Regions from separate parts of the Homo sapiens genome. Here all the other regions are linked to region 1. Evidence: promoter capture Hi-C in human tissues and cell types (Jung and others, 2019). All regions are on one chromosome and are shown on one strand. The core of a region is centred on a gene start or on the middle of the fragment in contact, and the rest is flanking DNA. Distances in the headings are between cores, read along the strand shown.

Region 1 (3,210 bases), core at 276-2,775:
GCATATAAAATATGTGTTAGTCGACTGCTTATGTTATCCATAAAGTTTCCAGACAACAGTAGGCTATTAGTAGTTAAGTTTTTGGAGTGAAAAGTTATATGCGGATTTTTGACTACACGAGGGTCAGTGCTCCTAACCCCCATGTTGTTCAAGGGTCAACTGCCCTTACTTTATTGAGCCACATCTGCATCATCTATTAAAATAGAGAAATAATAGTCTAGACTGAATAGAGTTGTTGGAAAAATGAAATGAAATAACATGTGTAACACATGTCTGTCACATAACAAGTTCTCCATAAACATTAGCTATTCTGCTATTAATAATCATTGTTATAACTATGAGTTCTAATTCTAGGCCTGCTGAAAGCTATTAAAATATGGCATGACTGCCTTAACTGGGATACTATTTCTATTGTCACACACTTGGGAATCTTATTGGATGTTTATATATATCATTTTATCAGTTCTTTACACACATTGATCATTTGGCCACAGAGCAGTTGTACAAATAGATTATTTAGTAACCTATCAATTCAATCAAAATAACTTGCTCTATTACAATCAGTGATGGGGGAGGAAATCCTCCAAGCACCTTGCTTGAAGAGAAATGTAGAAACCACATCGGGCAAAAAGTCCCCCTCCAGCCACTGTGAAACCCAAGTTGTCGTCAGTAACTTGACATTCTAGGGTAGGAATCAGGACAGGAGAGAGGTGATCTCTCCTTTTGACCTTGTGTATTCTGACCTCAGAAATAAGAGCTGGAATTGCCTTCTGGAATGGGCCTGTCACAGTATTGTGTGATTTGGGGGACCCCCTTCATCTGGGAGAGAAGGGTGGTCTCAGCTTCCACCTCAGAAATTTCTGACCCTTAATATACCTCCACCCCATCTCTAGTTAAAGGCTTAAAACTCTAAGATTTTCCTATGAGGACAAAAAGAAAAGGAAATCTGAGCATTTGAAGAAATTCTTAAAAGTCGATGAGTGAGGTTTCCCTCACACATGCCATCTTCCCCTACCTCTCCTCTTGAAAACAATGTCTTTTGCACCCTCAAGGTCAAGGTTAAACCCGAGTTGGTACTCATTTCCTTTCTGATTTTATTTGCCTTATCCTGTTCTACTCCTCAATTGCCTCTTCCAGAATCTGTGCAAAATAATTACCTCAACTTCAGGGGAAAGTTTAGATGTAAATACCCCCGCCCCCCTCCCCACGTCCACACATCCCCTTTCTTCTCTCTCCCTCTTAACATTTCCTTACGCTCTCAGCCAATAGAGGAGTTGAAACATTTAAATGCGGTATCTAAACTGCATTTAAAGAATTAACCCATTTTGCCCCTCACTGGTCTAAACCACAGGGTGCCAACCGGACGTTAATTGCTTTCATCTGGTGGGGTTCCAGACAGCTCCTCAGAAGGAAGGAGCGCACATTCCTGGCACCAATTGGCTAATTCAATTTACTTCAGCGGCATTAGCCTCTGTCAGAATATTCATGAGCAGGGGAATGAGGACCCGCGGTACAGGCAGGCAGCAGCCACTCCTGCTAGGGAAGGCGCGAGGGAGGGGAAGCGGACCGCGCGCCACGCTCGGGGGACGGTGACCGCGACCAGGGGGCTCTTCTCACTGGACAGGCCGAACGCGGTGGCCGCGGGAGGGCAGGGCAGGGCATCGGCGGGGTTGGTGCACTTGGCAGTACCCCCCAACTCCTGGCAACCGCACGGAGACTTTGCGAAACATCCGAAGGCAGAAAAGCTGTGACACTTCTGACAGAGGGGGTAGGGGGGTGGGGGGCGGGGACAGCGCCGCGAGCAGGGGTGAAGAGACCCAGCGGGGCACCAGCCGCCCAGTGGGGGAGGCAGCTACGTGAGCAGAACGCCCGCCCTGGAGCAGTTAGGACCGAAGGTCTCCGGAGAGTCGCCGGCGGTGCCAGGTAACGCAGAGGGCTCGGGTCGGGCCCCGCTTCTGGGGCTTGGGACTCCGGGCGCGCGGAGCCAGCCCTCTGGGGCGAAATCCCCGGGCGGCGTGCGCGGTCCCTCTCCGCGCTGTGCTCTCCCAGCAACTCCCTGCCACCTCGACGAGCCTACCGGCCGCTCCGAGTTCGACTTCCTCGGACTTAGTGGGAGAAGGGGTTGGAAATGGGCTGCCGGGACTGGGGGAGCTGCTCTCTGGAAGCAGGGAAGCTGGGGCGCACCGGGGCAGGTGGAGGACGTGGCGCGCTGGGAGCGGGGACTGCGCGCGCCTGGGGATGGTGACTGGGGATCCAGGAGCGCGGCTTGTGGGGGCGCTTGGCACGGCTTCACCCTCGCTGGCCCCGCAGGCGGTGGCGCCTCCCTCCGCCTGCAGAGGGGACAGGGTGGCCGCGTCCCTCGCACAGAGATGTGCGCCGGGAAGGGGACCAGAGAGCCAGGCTCCGGGGAGGCGCAGGCACCTACGGGGCCGATCCCTGGTCCGTGCCTCGCGCCGCGCCCCCGCCGGAGCTCGGCTGTGGGAGGAGAATGTGGTGGGTACTCGAGTCCCCGCCACCTGCCGGACTTCGCCAACTCCCCGGATTTCCTGTCCTCGGGCCCTGACACTCCCAAGGAAAGCTCTGAATTGCGCTCGCTGTTTGGTTTTTGCTTGTTGTAGTTACTCTGGGGGAAGAGCCGGGGGCAAGGGGGTCAAATGGGGCTAAAGTTTCAGATTTGCAAAGAGAACGTTACCGAGGACTCTCAACGTGTCCTTAGCAATCGGAGAGACTGCAGCAGCCTTTGCCTAGCTATCCGCCTCTGGGGCAGCAGTGGGGGCTGAAATCTGGAAGGCAGCCCGGAGGCAGCGTCAGAGCCTTGTTTTGTTTTGTTTGTTTCTGCCGAGACCAGGCTGGAAGTGAGAGGGGATAGTACCAGACAATCGGGGAGTTGGTCGCCTGGTAGATTCAGAGTTTACTATGTTGTTGCTATTATTATTAATGCTCTTGTTATTGGCACGAGCACCAGGAACAATTTTTTTTCTGATTGTTATAAATCGCCTGCAAATTGAACCTGCAGCCGCCTCCCCTCAAATGAAATGTCCCCGGACCTCCTCCAGTCTCTGATGTGTGTCTTTCCACCAAAGGAAATTACCCACTCAGAGCTGTGGTGCTGTCAGGGACTCAGCTAAGGAATTGGATCTACCTAAGAACAACAAAAAGTTGAAACTAGGATGAGTTTGAACCCACGCTTATAGATGAGTATTATGTTCC
Region 2 (3,210 bases), core at 520-3,019, 46 kb before region 1:
TTTAAGACTACATCACTGGAATTATATGAGTAGGGAAGGCCTCAAACCGGTTGTGCCAAAAGATTCCATTGAAGAACTGGATTCATTGGAGTTAACTACTTCATTGCAGACTTCCCACCAACACAACAGCTCTGAGCTGTGACTGAAGCTTACAAAATCAGAAAGTTGGAGTGGGGATGGTTCCTAGCCCCACCTTACCCTCTCACTATAGTTCATAAGTAAAATTTCCTCCTGGCTCCTCAAATAAACATCAGCTAGCTCATTCCTAAGCCTGTTGGGCTTGCCATTCTTTTCCTTTTCTTCAGTTTTCTCTTCTCTAATCCCCTAGTTTACTTATTTTAATGTGAACGTCTGACTGTTCTATACCTTCTCTCTCCTTAGGATCTTTCTTCTGCTCCAAGTCAGTCATATCTCTCCATCTTCTGTTCATTCTGAAAGGGTCTTTTCATTATATATTAATTGCATTATTAGCCCATGGCTGTTGGTTTTGCACTTAAGACTTTAGCTGCTAGATTTTATCCAGTTTGAATCCCAGCTCTGGCTTACTAGCTATGTAACTTGAGAAAGTTACTTAATTCTCTCTCTATCCATTTCCTTAGCCAGAAAATGGAGATAATAATAGCAACTTCTTTAAAATGTTTTTGTGATATGTACATGAGTTAGTACATGAAAAATGCCCAGAACAGAGCTTGGCACTTAGTAAGTCTGGAGGACTGATTCCGTTTAGCAAATATTTAGTAAGTACATACTACAAGAGGGCACTGTGTGTTAGGAAATGGAGACATAAGAAGGAACAGAACACAATGTCTGCTCTCCAAAAGCTTGTAGTCTAATGGTTCCACAGCAGATCATTTGCTTTTTATTAAAATAACATTTAAGCACTTGGCACCAAGCACTATGGCAAACCCTGTAGCTATTCTGTCGACACTCTGGCCATGAAAAAGATAAGCTGAGATATTTTGCACAGAACATCTTCAAAGTGAATGGGAAAACTGCATTTATTATTTGGGGCTTTCAATGAGCTACATATTTCATTTAGACCGAAATGCTTTTCACCCAAGTTACTTGAAGAATTTGTCTGTCTTCATTTCCTGAGGCATGAATGAACCAAGCTCAGGGATTCAAATGCTAATTCTTTACATGGCTTCCAATCTCTCATTGCACCTAAACTTGCAAGAAGCAGTGTGACAGCTATGTCAACCCAAAATCTGTGCAGGTATGGAAAACATAAAGATAAAATTTCACATAACCAAGCTTCAGTGGGAGAAGTCCCTAGATTCAGACACAGATCTCTGATTAACATCATTATAGAAAGCAAGTTGCTAAATTAAATTGGAGAGGATGGCATGATTGAGACCTCTGAATCCAGCACTTCCCTCCCTGAAATTATAAAATTGCAACTTTAAAAATGAAAGTGACTGAAATCCACTTATCTTCAGGGATTGGCTTACAGATTATTCCATAATAGGCACACAAAATGATTGCAGTAATTGAAGTTGAGACAAGGTAATATTAAGTAGGCCTCCCACCGGAAATTTCCAAGGAAGCTGTAAGGAATTGGGACCTTTTTCCATTTCTTTCAAATATAATAATGTCCAATTTTTCTAAATCAGTTATAAATGTTAGTATCTGAGATGCAGGTTAAAGGGACAACAAAATTTTGTTCCTCAGTTTTCTTCCCTGCTGTGGAACAAGAACGAACTTGGTGTAAAAGATGTTAAAATAGTTATTTAATAGGAATTTTCTATTTCTATTATTTTCTGCTCCTTTGCAGTACATCCTGTAGCCTCTTGTAATAGCACAAACCTTCTGCAGGACCCAGTCAGTTGGATGTTGTAACTGTGATGTTACTCGTTCCAACCTGCTTAAGAATTCCAACTGACTGAGTGAGACTCCGTCTGAAAAAAAAAAAAAAAAAAGAATTCCCTATAGGAATTCAGTCACCAACAGAAATGAGGAGTTTGCAGCCTAAAGGGAAAGTGTGGTGGCCTTATAAATGGAGTGGAAGGTGCACCTACTCCTTCAAGCTAAACGGATGGTGATCAGGAGAAACACTGAAGGAGAATGGAGAGTGAACAAAGGAGACTGGCCTCTCATTCTTAAACTGTACACTTGCAGAAATGCAGAACCTGGTTAGCCCACCTCACTGTGTCGTCAGAGCAGAATACAGCAACAGGGTTCTTGAGCAAACCTGACATGTATCCTCAGTAGAGTGAGGCATATATGAACATAGAGACTTATGAGCCCCTTTTCTGGAAAATTCTGAAGGGAGACCACAATCCATAATAACACAGAAAGAGAAGGCAGCAGTGAGTCAGTCTGAACTCCCACTATGGGGTATGGCAAGGATGATATGTTTCCCTTGGGCCAAGTGAGTACTCAGAGGGAAACAGGCCTTGGGCTATCACTGCAGGTACTTCAACCAAGAGGGTGCCAGCAGGAACAATGAGAATTCCCAGTAAGAGGCTACAGGATGTACTGCAAAGGAGCAGAAAATAAGAGGGTTTGCAGAAGGTTAGTTAACCAAAGAGAGTGATACCAATGTTTTGGAACTGTCCAATGTGGTGGTCTTTGGAAGGCCTTTCAAATTACTCAACATGGACCCTACAAGGCAGCTTATCACATCCACCTGCAGAATAGACAGACACCAGTTATATAATGTTTCATTCCCTTGTTCCTCTAATTGTCTACCCCTACAAAAGTCAGGAAAAAAAAAAGAGAAAGAAGGGAAAGAATAAAGTATATAGAATGTACCTTTTCTTACTACAAAGAGTAGAGATGATGTCACTTACATGTGATGAATAATTTTTTATTTAGGCTGCATATTTTTAATATTTGAAGGACTCACAATTACAGAAAACAGACTGTTCTTTATTACAGAAAAGGAATTAGATAGTTACATGATCTGCTTAAGATCTGATCAAGAGGTAGAGAACATCTTAGATAGGGGTTGGAAAAAAGTCATTTTCTATTAGTTGTCTAAGACATTCAGACTATCCCATAAACAATCATCAATCAATCAACCAGGAAGTTTTACTGAATACAAACTCTATGAGAGACTGTGTGTTCTGAATAAACAATTTATAATGCCTTTATTCCACCAAGCAAAATTGGGCTAGACAGTACATGAAGCTGTATTGCCTAGTAGAGATAGCCCACTGCCTCTCTATATCGTTTGGTACCTATGTAACCCTTCTCTATATGAATGGG
Region 3 (3,210 bases), core at 522-3,021, 45 kb after region 1:
GTGCGTATGCAGGCAGAGTTGGTTATGTGTGGAGGGGAGGTATCAGAGGAGACAATGAGGTAAACTGAAGGATTCTTCTGCTGTTTCATTAAGAAGGATAAGTAGCTGTATTAGCTAGGCTCAATAAAGGCTTAGCTGATACGACCAGAAAAGTAGAGAATAATTTATTCTTCTTTCATGACAGAAAGTGAGGCAGCTCTGCTCCATGAGGTCATTCAGGGACATGAGTCCCACCCAGCTTGGAGCCCTTAGAATTTACACGGTCAAAACTGATTCATCCCCATTGCCTTTTCCTCACCAGAAAAGTGAGAAAAGTAAGTCTGAACCAGGTAATTTCCTTCTGGGCAATTTGTTGTAGAGGTTGTACTTAGTACACCCATTCACATTTCACTGGAGAAACAGAATTTCATGACCATATTTAGCCACAAAGGAGTCTGGGAATTTGGCCTCTAGCTGGGCAGTCAAACCCCCAGATAAACCCTATTACAATGGAACAGGGGAGAACAACAGGGAGAAAACCAGGAGGCAGCCTCAGTAGAACTGAAACATTAGACCTGGCCACATAAGTTTCCATTACTTGTATCTTGTTCAGGTTTCATCAGACACGCGAAGCCTCATAAGTGGCCAGCCTCTTAGCCTTCCTTCAGATTGTCCACCGAGAGCCCAATCCACTTTGAGTTTTTACTTGGCCGCATTGTTAAGTCTTTGGTGACCACTTCAGAAATATATTTTATTTCTTAAATTAAAATGAACTAAAATTAATATTTTTAAATATTTTACAACCAGCGCACACATCCCTTTTTTTAGTAAATGGAGTTTATTTGGCTGTCACCAAATCAAGATTAGGGATTCCTACCTCAGCAGCTCATTTGCACATTCTATCATGGGTTTCTTAATATTACGATATATCTGTTTTTTACATTGTGGGCCTACATCTTGAGGGAAGAAATTATGTATTGGATCTATGTTACGGTTCACTCCACAGACCTGCACATATTGGGCCACTTACTAACTCTTATACTAATTAGACTGGTTCACATTCTGACAACTAATGACTTATTTACTTCACATTTTTGAAATGTCAGGACTTTAAGGAAGGGTCCACCCAAGCAGGAGAAATCTATACCTTTCTTAAGCTGAGAAAGTCTGTGGGGGACCCAGGAGTTCCTTTGATGTCCCCGTTTTCCTAGTAGATTCCCAAGGGTCAACAGGGCTCTGTTCACATCAGAAATGGCTAAAATACTGAAGAACAGATTGCTCACTATTGGCTCATTCTACCCCAGGAGCAGATTAAATACTTGTATGGGCATTCTAAATTAAATTTTAATATAATAGGTGTATGAAACACCTTCATTTTCAAAATTCTGTGGACTTTCATCAGCTGATGTATTTGCCATGGTACTCTAGTGAAACAGAACCAATGGTAGACGTGTATCTGAGCCTGAGAAGTCTCAAGATCTGCAGGTAGCAAACTAGAGACCCAGAAGACTAATGGTGAAAGTTCCAGTCCAAGTTCAGGTCCAAAGGTGGGAGAAGACTGATGTCCCAGCTCAAAGACAGGCAGAATGAGCAAACTTCCCCCTTACACAGCCTTTTTATTCTATTCAGGCATCCAACGGATTAGATGATGCCTGCTCGCGTTGGACAGAGCAAGCTGCTGTACTCAGTCTACGGGCTCAGATTTTAATCTCATCCAGAAACATCCTCTTTACTCAGTCTACTGGCTCATATTTTAATCTCATCCAGAAACACCCTCATGAAGACATCCAGAATAATGTTTGGCCAAATGTTTGGCATGCCACAGCCCAGTCAAGTTGACGTAAAATTAACCATTACGACTGGTGACTATTCTTTTTGTCTTAGTAAAAGCTCTGATTTAGATCAAATGTAACAAAACTTTCAGGTAGATAATAAGGGAAATAGTTCTGCTTTTTTCAAAATTAATTTCTAAAGAACTGGCATTTGGTGCTTCAGCTTAGATGTGACTTGGGGTGTATTTTAAGGAAACAACCACACTCTAAGCACAATTAATATGAGACACTCAGGGTTGTTTGCCAGGAATAGAATATATACTGCAAGTGATTTAAGAAAATATTATAATAAATTAAATGGTGGCCTTTTTCTCCCCTCTCGGTAGTTTTCGTATAGTATTAAAGACTTCCTGAGATTACTTAGATAAATATGATATAAAAATAAAATTTAAGAAGAAAATCTACAATTAGGTTTTTCCCCTTATAATTTTCAGGCTTTTAGGCTGTATCTCTTGAAATGATATATAAAAATGATAATGACTCAGATATGGTTAACACAGATAATCAGCTTAGATAATTACCGCAGAAGAGTGGCTCTCTTTATTTCAACTGGCTATTTTAATAGATCAGCTAAGCCTAATAATAATCAAGCAATTTCTCCTTAATTTGTGCTGGGCACATAAAATTTCAACAGCTGTGAAGCATTATTATGCTCCCTTCAAATTTTTCTTAGGGCTCTTTGAGAAACTTGTAATGTTGAAATATTAATCGCTTTATTGAGGATGCCAAACCTTAGAACATTAATAGAAAAGTCCCTTCCCAGGATTGCATTGACTTCTCTGGCTTTAAGATACAGAATATACAAACTTAGAGTCTTTTCTCTTTCTAGGCTCCACAATATAAAGCTTACTAGAGAAAAGGAAAGTCTATGGAATATTCTTTAGGGCCACATAGACAGAGTATCTATTATTAACTGATAATTTTTGGTATCGTGAGATAGTTCCCAGTATGAATCCCAAAGATAAAGTTTTAGTGGGCATTATGTAGCTAAGAAAACATCAGAAAGGGGCCTTGCCTGCAAAACTATGGGCTTGATATTTACATTTATTTCCTCATCTAGTGTCTTTGTATACAAAATAGTATTGTTGGAGTGTCCTGATGTAATTTGCTGACTGATCCAAGAGTTTCACATACATGAGATAACTATTACAATTGAGAAACCTGTCAAGAGGAGGAAAAGCAGAGAGGTAGGTCTTTGATGGTTTCATTTGGATTTTAACATCCTTAACCATTCAAAATTAGACTTCAGGCCTTATAGCTACTCTCCCTCAGCCACTGAACCAAGGCAATAAGCAAAGTGTTTCTAAGGACTGTCAGCTTGTAGTTGATACAGGCAAAGCATCCTTGTCAGGATTCTTAATGCAGGCAGACACGCGGATGTTTATTTTAGATCATTTGC

Evidence for each region. The method cuts DNA at HindIII sites, captures the fragments that hold promoters and counts their contacts. A contact is called where the count stands out against the background at its distance.
Region 2: a contact is called between a fragment that was not itself captured here and the fragment with the promoter of CDH20 in region 1, in 6 of the 25 tissues and cell types used here (heart left ventricle, neural progenitor cells, pancreas and 3 more).
Region 3: a contact is called between a fragment that was not itself captured here and the fragment with the promoter of CDH20 in region 1, in 2 of the 25 tissues and cell types used here (hippocampus and lymphoblastoid cells).

Annotation. Positions count from the first base shown.
Region 1 is chr18:61,331,905-61,335,114 of GRCh38, forward strand. It overlaps CDH20 (cadherin 20), which reads left to right and starts at 1,526. Exons shown (of 12, transcript NM_031891.4): 1 at 1,526-1,923. The HindIII fragment of the contact is 19,388 bases long and covers 1-3,210 here.
Region 2 is chr18:61,285,222-61,288,431 of GRCh38, forward strand. No RefSeq gene overlaps it. Among named protein-coding and RNA genes, the nearest start is that of CDH20, 47 kb to the right of the region's middle. The HindIII fragment of the contact is 4,448 bases long and covers 1-3,210 here.
Region 3 is chr18:61,376,851-61,380,060 of GRCh38, forward strand. All of the region lies in intron 1 of CDH20 (cadherin 20), which reads left to right. Among named protein-coding and RNA genes, the nearest start is that of CDH20, 45 kb to the left of the region's middle. The HindIII fragment of the contact is 5,047 bases long and covers 1-3,210 here.